2 separate regions of the Homo sapiens genome follow, and region 1 is linked to region 2. Evidence: promoter capture Hi-C in human tissues and cell types (Jung and others, 2019). All regions are on one chromosome and are shown on one strand. The core of a region is centred on a gene start or on the middle of the fragment in contact, and the rest is flanking DNA. Distances in the headings are between cores, read along the strand shown. Region 1 overlaps TRIOBP (TRIO and F-actin binding protein). Region 2 holds the start of GALR3 (galanin receptor 3).

Region 1 (6,163 bases), core at 1,308-3,807, 46 kb before region 2:
TGGAGATTGGGGTTTCTTGAAGTGGCTTCCCCACTCACACCCTACCCACACCCCACCCTTCCTAAAGCAGCGGCCTCTAGGCTTCTGAGGGTGGGGCTGAAAATCCAAGGTCTCCCTTAGTACAGACTGTGACGCCCCCAGTGTGGCTTGCAGGCTAGTGGCAGCGGAAGCATGTGGGAAATAGCAAGTCCAGTCCCACCCCAACCTACTGAACCAGCGTCTGCATTTTAACAGGGTGCCCCAGTGATTCACGTGACCTTCAAAGTCTGAGGAGCCCTGGAGTAGGGCCCAGGGCCCAGGCCTGAGAGAGAGGCCTGGGGCTAAGACTAGCCCTGACCATGACCTTGGGCAAGTCACACCCCTCACTGAGCCTCAGTTTGCTTCTCCATCAAATGGGTGTTTTTCTTTCAGTCCCAGTCCTCTCCTGAGGCTTTTCCCAGAGGTCATGCCCAGCCCTGGGCAGGGGTGAGGGCAGGGTTGTGGCTGCCAGGCACAGGTCCAGCGGGCTGGGAGTCCTCACCATGGCTGGCTGTGCTGATTATGGTTGCATGGGGCTGGGAAGAGGTCCCATTTCTGAGCCACAGAAACAGGCCACATCCAGTAGGGGTCCTGGAAGGCTGTGAGAACCCAGAGGAGACCCTGACCCAGCCTGCAGGTAGAAGACTGCCTTTGGAGGCAGCTTTGAAAGATGACTCTTCCAGATGGAAGAATCAGGAAGGGCCTTCCCACGTGGAGGCACCAGCAGGAGCAAACGTCCCTGGTGTGTTCAGGCAAAGAGCCACAGGAGAGTGACCTCGTGGAGTGGGAAGAGATTGTTTCCCATTCCCTTGCCAGGGATTGGTTGAGGAATGGACAAGGCTTGCAGTTCACGCAAGCCAGTGAAATGCGAGGGGAAGTCTTGGGAGTGGGGTGGAGGAGGTCATCTGGGAAGGGTGTCCTTGGTCTTAAAAAGAGGCACAAGAGGCCGGGCGCGGTGGCTCTTGCCTATTATCCTAGCACTTTGGGAGGCCAAGGCAGGGGGATCACTTGAGGTCAGGAGTTCGAGACCAGCCTGGCCAACATGGTGAAACCCCGTCTCTACTAAAAATACAAAAAATTAGCCAGACGTGGTGCCAAGCACCTGTAATCCCAGCTACTCAGGAGGCTGAGGCAGGAGAATCACTTGAACCCAGGAGGCAGAAGTTGCAGTGAGCCAAGATCGCGCCACTGCACTCCAGCCTGTGTGACAAGGGCGAAACTCCATCTCAAAAAAAAAGGGGGAGGGTGGCGCAAGGAGAGGACACCTCTCTCCTGGCCCTGTCGCCATCTTCCCTCATCAATAGCTAAAAATGGCAAAGAAGAAAGAGCCAGGACCCCGTGCCATCAAATCCTCCGGCCTTGTGCTGCCCTGTCTCGGCACTGCTTGCCTTAGGAGATCAGGAGTGTTCCTAGCCACTGGGAGATGGGATGCCTGCCACTGGCAGCTCTGCCGTCCATCCTCACCATCCCACCGTCCCCCCAAGACAGCTCTCCATCCCATCCTCTGCCTCCCTTCTAGCCTCAACCTAACTCAGGGCTCCCCCGTCTCACACCTGGGTTGCAGGAACATCCTCTTCACCAACCCCCCTCCCATCCCTCCTCAGGGCTGCCTAGGGCAGCTACAAAAACCAGGCCAGCCTCTGAAAGGTGCTCCACATCTCATTAAAAACCGTGAAATCGCACTGCCCCACTATCAGAATAGCTCAGAGGAGAAGGTCTGCCAGTACCAAGTGCTGGTGGGGATACGGAGAAGAGCAGCTCCCAGGCGCTGCTGGTGCAAATGTGCTTTGTTGCACCCACGGCAGGAAACTGACCAGCTTCTCATCAAGTTAAATACGCATCTACCCTATGGCCTAGCATTTCCACTCTTGCTTACACATCCAGGAGAAATGAGTCCTTACATGCACAAAAGGATGAGTACCGTAATACTCACATCAGCAAATAAACAATACAGCTGTGTGTCAGTAGTAGAATGAATAAATTGTGGTCGATTCATACGTTAGAATACAGCAATTTAAAAACAACTGCTACACACAAAAATGTTGGTGAATCTTTCAGACACAATGTTGAGCAAAAATAGCCACAGAAGAGTGTAAGGCTGTACGATTTTATTTAGGTGAGGTTCAAGAACAGACAAAACACGGTGATAGTGGTCAGAAGAGCGGGTACCTCTGAGCTGAGGGCATTGACCAGCAGTGGGCAAAAGGGAACATTCTGATCCCAGAAATGTTCTATATCATGGTCTGGGTTGTGGTCACGTGGGTACATACAGATGTAAAAATTCACCATGCCGGCCAGGCATAATCCCAGCACTTTGGGAGGCCAAGGTAGGTGGATGACCTGAACTCAGGAGTTCCGAGACCAGCCTGGCCAACATGGCGAAACCCCGTCTCTACTAAAAATACAAATAATTAGCCGGGCTTGCTGGCGCATGCCTGTAATCCCAGCTACTCGGGAGGCTGAGGCAGGAAAATTGCTTGAACCCGGGAGGCGGAGGTTGTAGTGAGCCCAGATCGCGCCATTGCACTCCAGCCTGGATGACACAGCGAGACTTTGTTTAAAAAAAAAAAAAAATGCCACGCCTTGCACTTACGATTTGTTCATTTTTACTATGTGTGAATCACGTCTCAATGGTGCAGGGGGTGGGAAGAAGCCTGCTTTACAAAAGAATAAGCCAGGGTTCCAGCAGGCTCCCAGATGAGCCACCTGGGAAATGGCCCTGTCACCGCGGCCGCAGGGAATTTGACCAAAACCACGTGGTTTGGCTGCAAGTTCTGGTCAACTGCTTCAGGCAGCCAGGCATGTGCTCTGTAAAGAAAACAAACTGGTTTCAGATGAACCTGCCAGGTCAAACCCTACCTGCTGCCTCCAGCTGGCTAGGTGAGCCTTACTGAGTCACATCTCTCTCTGGGCTTTACTTCCTCTTCTGATAAATGGGAACAATAACGTCTACCCCAGAGGACTGTGTAGGTGTTAAATTACCAACTGTTTCAGTTATCTATTGCTGTGTCGCCAACAACCACATATGTAATGGCCTAGAATACCACTTTTTAAATATTCATGGTCCTGTGGGTTGACCTGGCTCAACCTCTTTGTGTCTTTTTTTGAGATAAAGTCCCGCTCTGCCGCCCAGGCTGGAGTGCAGTGGTGTGATCTCGGCTCACTGCAACCTCTGCCTCCTGGCTTCAAGTGATTTCCTGCCTCAGCCTCCCAAGTAGCTGGGATTACAGGTGCCCGCCACCACGCCCAGCTAATTATTTATGTTTTTAGTAGAAATGGGGTTTCACCACATTAGCCAGGCTGGTCTCAAACTCCTGACCTCAAGTAATCCACCCACCTTGGCCTCCCAAAGTGCTGGGATTACAGGCGTGAGCCACCGTGCCCGGCCTGGACATCTTTCTCCACATGGCCACTTCACGGGGCTAGCTTGGGCTCCTTACAGCATAGTGGACTTGGGACAATCTGACTTCCTACATTGTGGTTGACTTCCCCCTAGAAGAGGAGTTCTGGCCAGGTACAGTGGCTCACGACTGTATATCCAGCACTTCAGGAGCCCGAGGCAGGAGGATCACTTGAGGCCAAGAGTTAGTTCGAGACTAGCCTGGGCAACACAGCAAAACCTCGTATCTACAAGAAATTAAAAAAACAAAAAAACAATAGCCAAGCAGCCCGGGTGAGGTGGCTCACACCTGTAATCCCAGCACTTTGGGAGGCCGAGGCAGGCAGATCACCTGAGGTCAGGAGTTCGAGACCAACCTGATCAACATGGAGAAACCCCATCTCTACTAAAAATACAAAATTAACCAGGCATGGTGGCATGCACCTGTAATCCCAGCTACTCAGGAGGCTGAGGCAGGGAAATCACTTGAACCTGGGAGGCGGAGGTTGCAGTGAGCTGAGATTGCGCCACTGCACTCCAGCCTAGGGAACAGAGTGAGACTCCTTCTCAAAACAAAAGCCAGGCATGGTGATGCATGTGCCTGGAGTCCCAGCTACTTGGGAGGCTGAGGCAGGATGATTGCTTGAGCCCACGAGTTGGAGGTTGCAGTGAACTGTGATTGCTGCCACCGCACTCCAGCCTGGGCAACAGAGTGAGACCCATCTCTAAAAAAATAAAAACAATAAAAAGTAAAGGGAGCCTCAACAGCCCCAAGTGGAACCTACGAGCTTCTTATGAATTTGGCTTGGAGGTGCTGCAGCATCCCTTCCATCACTTTAGTCAAAAATGAGTCGCACAGCCAGCCCAGGTCCAATGGGAGAGGCGGCAGCAGGGCCTGAGCGCCGGAGGTGTGGTTCACTGGCAGCCATCTTTTTCCTCTGTTTCTGCTTCAGCTACACCCCAGCTCCTCTTTAGTCCCCTATGTGGAATTCTCATTTTCTTCCCAGCCCTCTGATGTGCTTCCCTGGAGTCTGTCCTCAGCAATCCTCTGTTCTCTCGTGAAGACTTATTTATTTACTTACTTAGAGACGGAGTCTCACTCTGTCTCCCAGTCTGGAATGCAATGGCACAATCGGCTCACTGCAACATCCACCACCCAGGTTCAAGGGATTCTCCTGCCTCAGCCTCCTGGGTAGCTGGGACTACAGGCAGCCGTCACCACACCTGGCTAATTGTTGTATTTTTAGTAGAGACAGGGTTTTACCATGTTGGCCAGGCTGGTCTCGAACTCCTGACCTCAAGTGATCCCCCTGCCTCGGCCTCCCAAAGTGCTGGGGTTACAGGCGTGAGCCACCATGCCCGGCCTCTTGTGAAAACTTGATCTCTCATCCTTGGCTTTTGTTACTGTCTGTGCTAACCATCCACATCTGTCTCCAGCCCAGACCTTTTCCATGAACTCCTAAGACCTGGTCAGCCTCAGTCTTAAGGCTGCCATCAAGGCCCTGTCCTCCCTGCAGCCCGTTCCTGTTCAGTGTATTCTGCCTCGTGAGTCAGCCTCTGGAGTAGGCCCCGGGGATGCAACATGGAACCAAGCATTCTCCCTTCAGGAGGGAGGTGAAATTGGAATCAGGTGATTAATTACAAGAAGCCACAGCACAGAGGGTGTAGCAGGCCCAGCCTGGAAGGTCAGGGGAGGCTTCTTGGAAGAGGAGATGCTGGAACCGAGCAGGATAGAGCTAGGCTGAGAGGGGGAGAGAGTGCCAGGTCCAGTGAGCGTCAGAAGCTCAGCAGAGTTCAAAGGCTCTGAAATGGCTGCAGCTTGTGTGTAGAGGGATTCGAGATGAGCCTGCGGGGACAGGCTGGAGCTGGAATCTGATTTTGCAAGGACAGTGGGGGTCATGTGTCCAAGCTCTAGCTTTGTGCTTAACCCAGTGGGAGGCTATTGGGGAATTTTATGTGAGCAGTGCCTTGGCTCAGAACAGCGATCTTGGTCATCCTCAGCACATGGGGGCTATGGAAGGCCCTAAGTTGACCTAGGGTTTGGTGCAGTGGGAGAGAAGAACAGAGGATGAAACCCCGAGGAAGGGCAGAAGCCCGTAAAGCAACTGAGAGGTTCCCAGCAGCCCAAGCGAGCGAATGTTTCAGAGTGATGGAGCGGGAAGCGCCCAGGCTCTGGTGTCAGATGGCCCTCCGTCCGTCCCCCTGCTCTCAGCTCTGCAACCCGGGCAAGTTACATGACCTCTCTGTGCCTCCGTTTCCTCATCTGTAAAGCAGGGATAGTAGTACCTCCCTCCCAGAAGTATTATGAAGATGAGAAATGCGCTCATGTGTATGAAGTGCTGAGAGGGTGCCTGGGACTGAGTTAACAAGGTACATGTGAGCTGTTAAGACTATTGTGATGTGCTGCTGTTTGGGTGTTGTGAGGATTGGATGAAAAGGTGCATGTTGCCAGACGCGGTGGTTCACGCCTGTAATCCCAGCACTTTGGGAGGAAGATGCAGGTGGACCACCTGAGGCCAGGAGTTCGAGACCAGCCTGGCCAACGTGGTGAAACCCCGTCTCTACTAAAAACACAAAACCTAGCCAGGTGTGGTGGCGCACGCCCGTGATCCCAGCAACTCAGGAGGCTGAGGCAGGAGAATCCCTTGAACCCAGGAGGGGGAGGTTGCAGTGAGCTGAGATCGTGCCACTGCACTCTAGTCTGGGCAGCACAGCGAGACTCTGTCTAAAAAAAAAAAAAAGCGGGGGGTGGCATGTCAAAAATGT
Region 2 (5,775 bases), core at 2,887-5,386:
GGCCAAGAAGGACCTTGTGGGCAGGGGGCTCCCAAGGGCCAGGAGTGCGAAGTCATGAATCTCAGATGCTTTCCAGCCCGTTCCAGGGTTCAGGCATGCACATTCGTCCAGGCTTCTGGGAGTCTAAGGGTGCGTTACTTTCACGCAGTGGTTGCAGGTCTGTCAAAGTTTCTAAAATCCCACCAAGCTGAGTCTCGCCATTCAGGGATCATAAGAGTCTACAATTCCTTTGCGCAATTCAATTCTGAATTCAATTCAGAATTAATTCAATTCTGGCCGGGCGCGGTGGCTCATGCCTGTAATCCCAGCACTTTGGGAGGCCGAGGCGGGCGGATCACGAGGTCAGGAGATCGAGACCATCCTGGCTAAAACGGTGAAACCCCGTCTCTACTAAAAATACAAAAACAAAACATTAGCCGGGTGTGGTGGGCGCCTGTAGTCCCAACTACTCGGGAGGCTGAGGTGGGAGAATGGCGTGAACCTGGGAGGCGGAGCTTGCACTTGCAGTGAGCTGAGATCGCACCACTGTACTCCAGCCTGGGCAACAGAGCGAGACTGTCTCAAAAATATATATATATATTAATTCAATTCTGAAGCTTCTGAATTCAGGTTTGGCAAGTCTAGATTAGATTCCTAATAGTTTCAATTCCGTGAGACTCTGCTTCCAAAAATTGAGGAATTTCTGCATCTAAAGAAGGTGACATCAGGCTCTATAGAGGCACCTCTGAGCCCTCGTGAAAACCCCGGGGCCTTTGAGGAGCTGGTTCTTTTCTTTTCTTTTTTTTTTTTTTTGAGTCTTGCTCTGTTGCCCAGGCTGGAGTGCAGTGGCACAGTCTCCGCTCACTGCAACCTCCGCCTCCCGGGCTCAAGCCATTCTCCTGCCTCGGTCTCCCAAGTAGCTGGGATTACAGGTGTGCACCACCATACCTGGCTAATTTTTAGTAGAGATGGGTTTCACCATGTTGGCCAGGCTGGTCTTGAACTCCTGACCTCAAGTGATCCAACTGCCTTGGCCTCCCAAAGTGCTAGGATTACAGACATGAGCCACCACGCCTGGCCTTAAGGAGCTAGTTCTGAGCATCTACCCCAGCTCCTCCGGCCTGGGATGCGAGTCCTGGCTCCATCAGCGCCCCTCACACTGTTTTCTCTCCCCTTACGCACTTCCCCTTGATGCTCCCCAACCCCAGCCCCAGCTTCTAAAAACACTACACTCAGCCCCTCCACCTCTCCCCTCCCTTCCTTAACTCACTGCAGACTGCCTTTTGCCCTCAAAACACCTGTCCAGTTTACCAGCAGCCTCCTCATTGCTGAATCCAGTGTACCTTGCTCCCCAGGTGCTAGCCTCCCTAACCCTCTGGAGGCATTTGGCCATGTGGCCCCTCCTCCACACAGTTCAGGACAGAACTCCATGACCAAATCACACAGCCGTTCACCAAGACCTATTCTCCTCTTTGGCTCTTGCCTAGACGAGAGGCTCCTAACAGGTCACTCATCAAATCTCTCCCACTCTGTCCATCCTTTTCACCCCGGGCAATAATAGACTTTTTTTTTTTTTTTTTTTTGAGACAGAGTCGCTCTGTTGCCCAGTCTGGAGTGCGAGCGATCTCGGCTCACTGCAACCACCACCTCCCAGGTTCAAGCGATTCTCGTGCCTCAGCCTCCTGAGTAGCTGGGATTATAGGTGTGAGCCACCATGCCCAGCTAATTTTTGTATTTTTAGTAGAGGCAGGGTTTTGCCATGTTGGCCAGTCTGGTCTCGAACTCTTGACCTCAGATGATCCGCCCACCTCAGCCTCCCAAAGTGCTAGGATTACAGGTGTGAGCCGCTGCGCCTGGCCCATAACAAACTTTTTACAAAAGATAATGTGGGGGGAAAAAAAGAAAGAAAGAAAGAAAATGTGCGGGTCATGTCTCTGCTGTAGAATCTTAGTAGTTCCCCGTTGCTATCAGGTAAAGCCAGACTTTTTGGACAGGTACCTAAACCATCTGGGCTCCAGCTGGACTAAGGCTCTGGAAAGAGCTTCCGGAGAAGGATCTCAGGATTTGCAGAGCCTGAGGGAGGAGTCTCTGGAGTCTGCCGAAAGGAGACTCAAGTCCTGGTTTCCCACTCCAGGAAACCCCAGTCAAGACTAGGAATCCTTTTTTTTTTTTTTTTTTTTTTTTTTTTTGAGACGGAATCTCGCTCTGTCGCCCAGGCTGGAGTGCAGTGGCACGATCTTGGCTCACTGCAACCTCCAACCCCTGGCTTCAAGCAATTCTCTGCCTCAGCCTCCCGAGCAGCTGGGATTACAGGTGCCCGCCACCACACCCAGCTAATTTTTGTATTTTTAGTAGACATGGGGTTTCATCATCTTGGCCAGGCTGGTCTTGAACTCCTGACCTCATGATCCACCTGTCTTGGCCTCCCAAAGTGCTGGGATTACAGGCATGAGCCACCGCGCCCAGCCTCTTCTTTTTTTTTTTTTTTTTTTTTTTGAGACAATGTCTCACTCCATCACCTGGGCTGGAGTGCAGTGGCGTCATCTCGGCTCATTGCAACCTCCACCTCCCAGGTTCAAGCGATTCTCCTGCCTCAGCCTCCAGAGTAGCTGGGATTACAGGCGCCCGCCACGACGCTCAGTTAATTTTTGTATTTTTAGTAGAGACAAGGTTTCGCCACATTGGCCAGGCTGGTCTCGAATTCCTGGCCTCAAGTGATCTGCCTGCCTCAGCCTCCCAAAGTGCTGGGATTACAGACGTGAGCCACCATGCCCGGCCTAGGAACCTTTTCTAAACATGGATTGGAGCAAGAAGGTGCAGGGATAGGGGATGGAGTCACATCAGGCTGGGCCACAGGAGGTGGGAGTGCCAGAGACTGGCTGGGCCCTGGGCACAGAGGGGTTAACTACAAAGCAAATCACAGAGAGCGAGATCAATGGGTTACTGGCTGCAGAGAGAGGAAAAGGCAGCAGCAACGCAGAGAGGCAGAGAAGAGCCAGGCAGAAGAGCCTGCCACCTGGGGGAAATCAGGGACTGAGGAGGAAGTGGCCAGTGGCTACTCCAGAGGGAGTGCCCAACTCCGGCTCAGCAGAGGGGGCAGAGGAGAGGAGGGGCCTTAAAGGCAAAGGGGGAGAAGTAGAAGGCAGACCAGTACCTGCAGGGAGGCACCAAGGGGCAGCCGCTGAATCAGGAGGCCCACCCAGCCCGGCCATTCCACCCAGGATCAAGCCCACTGCCCAAGGCGGAGGTGGGTGTTGCCCATCCTGGGCTTTGGGGACCTACTGCATGCTGGGTGCTGGGATGGGGGCAGACATTGCCTTTCTTCCCTACTCCCTGCCTGACCCCCCTTTCCCCTACTTTGTCCCACCACCCCAGTGGTCTCAAGCCTGCAAGGAGATCCACAGGCAGTAGGAGACATGGGCTGTAGAGTGGGATGGGGGTGAGCATGGGTGCGGTGTGCACACACACAAGTTGTCAGAGGCACCACCTGTTACAAGCTCTCAGATGAGCACTCTAGCTTAAGAGGCAGGATACCAGGGTGGCAACAGCCCCAGAGCTGCCATTTCGAGTGTGATATTATCCTCCCATGTCCCCTCTCTGGGCCTCAATTTCCCTATGTGCAGAGAGGAAGCAGTGACCTACACGGTCTTCCCAGTTTTGCCATTGTGATGATCTCACTATACTGGACCCTCCAATGACTCAGGGATGTTACCCGTGTTTTGCTAAGGCTACAGCTTGTAGCCAGAGAAAGCCCTAAACCCATGTCCCAGGGTCTCCCCTGAGCTTCAGATCCCCATTGAGAAGGAAAACATACCAGTTTCTGGGTTTGGCCCCTCCCCCCATCGCCATATCTTCATCCTACTTCGCTTGTGCCTTCCCCAGCCTCGTGGGTTGAAAGTGTCCCTCAAATACCTAGGTAGTCCTCCAGGCAGGACTCCAGGGGTGTTCCTTAGGAAACTGAGGAACTCTCACCCCTTGAACACCACGAGCTTGCTCACACAGTGACACTCAGCGATGACTTTGGCTCTGCTCTCCCCTCCTCCATCTCCCACGAGCTTCCAGCCCAGAACACCTGGCCAGACCCAGGTCGGGGGAGTTAGATCCCGGGGTCAAGCAACCAGAACTGGGGGCTCTTGCCTGAGGATTCCAGCTTCTCTTCCCAGGTGCCCGTCTGATGGGGAGATGGCTGATGCCCAGAACATTTCACTGGACAGCCCAGGGAGTGTGGGGGCCGTGGCAGTGCCTGTGGTCTTTGCCCTAATCTTCCTGCTGGGCACAGTGGGCAATGGGCTGGTGCTGGCAGTGCTCCTGCAGCCTGGCCCGAGTGCCTGGCAGGAGCCTGGCAGCACCACGGACCTGTTCATCCTCAACCTGGCGGTGGCTGACCTCTGCTTCATCCTGTGCTGCGTGCCCTTCCAGGCCACCATCTACACGCTGGATGCCTGGCTCTTTGGGGCCCTCGTCTGCAAGGCCGTGCACCTGCTCATCTACCTCACCATGTACGCCAGCAGCTTTACGCTGGCTGCTGTCTCCGTGGACAGGTGCGCTGTGCCTGGGGCCTGGCTGGGCAGGGCTGTGGGGGCGGGGGTTGGGGGAGGAGTCCTGAACAGATCCTCACTGGCCTTAGGAAGGAGAGAGTGGGGGACCAGAAAGGGAGGTGGGTGGGAGGAAACAAAAGCTCCCTGACCCCTCGCAAGCAGCCTCTGGGCACCTGCAGGGCGTGCTTGAGGGGACTGTCCTGCCCTTCCCCTCCTCCACTGTGAACTTCCAGAGGACGCCTCTGAGTCTCAAGTGGCAGCACAGGGTCTGGCACATAGTAAGTGCTCTGTAAGCGCGAAATGAATCGCAAAAGAAGCTCACGAATGCGTTCATCAGTTTTTTTGTTTTGTTTTGTTTTGTTGTTTTTTTTTTTTGGATCTTGGCTCACTGCAACCTCTGCCTCCTGGGTTCCAGCGATTCTCCTGCCACAGCCTCCTGAGTAGCTGGGATTACAGGCCACCACACCTGGCTAATTTTTTGTATTTTTAGTAGAAACGGGGTTTTGCCATGTTGGACAGGCTGGTCTCGAACCCCTGACCTCAAGTGATCCGCCCGCCTCGGCCTCCCAAGTGCTGGGATTACAGGCGTGAGCCACCGCGCCCAGCCCAGCTATTTTCTAACTGCCCACACCTGGCCAAGCTGTGCACACATCTGCTTCCACAGCTTGAAACTTGGGGTCAAATCCAGGCTCACTCCAGCTGATGACCCTGGGCAAGTCACTTCTCTCTGGACCTCATCTGACGCATCCATAAAATAATCCTAGAAATAACAAGTCACCGGGATCGGGCCCTTGCTAGGTGCAAGGGCCTAAGCACCTTGCGCGTTCACACCCTTAATCCCCGCCACGTCCCCCACGGTTCACAGGAGGCGCACTGGGCCGCAGGGCCCGGGCGCGGGACGTGGCGCGGGCCCCTGCGGGAGGGCACCTGCCCGCCCCGCTGACCAGGCGCCCTCCGCAGGTACCTGGCCGTGCGGCACCCGCTGCGCTCGCGCGCCCTGCGCACGCCGCGTAACGCCCGCGCCGCAGTGGGGCTGGTGTGGCTGCTGGCGGCGCTCTTCTCGGCGCCCTACCTCAGCTACTACGGCACCGTGCGCTACGGCGCGCTGGAGCTCTGCGTGCCCGCCTGGGAGGACGCGCGCCGCCGCGCCCTGGACGTGGCCACCTTCGCTGCCGGCTACCTGCTGCCCGTGGCTGTGGTGAGCCTGGCCTACGGGCGCACGCTGCGCTTCCTGTGGGCCGCCGTGGGTCCCGCGGGC

Evidence for each region. The method cuts DNA at HindIII sites, captures the fragments that hold promoters and counts their contacts. A contact is called where the count stands out against the background at its distance.
Region 1: a contact is called between a fragment that was not itself captured here and the fragment with the promoter of GALR3 in region 2, in 1 of the 25 tissues and cell types used here (adrenal gland).

The regions. Positions count from the first base shown.
Region 1 is chr22:37,774,542-37,780,704 of GRCh38, forward strand. It overlaps TRIOBP (TRIO and F-actin binding protein), which reads left to right. Exons shown (of 24, transcript NM_001039141.3): 24 at 1-2,015. Among named protein-coding and RNA genes, the nearest start is that of H1-0, 28 kb to the right of the region's middle. The HindIII fragment of the contact is 9,173 bases long and covers 1-6,163 here.
Region 2 is chr22:37,819,246-37,825,020 of GRCh38, forward strand. GALR3 (galanin receptor 3) reads left to right here and starts at 4,137. Exons shown (of 2, transcript NM_003614.2): 1 at 4,137-4,520; 2 at 5,478-5,775. The coding sequence starts at 4,162. RefSeq lists an enhancer at 1-398. The HindIII fragment of the contact is 28,947 bases long and covers 1-5,775 here.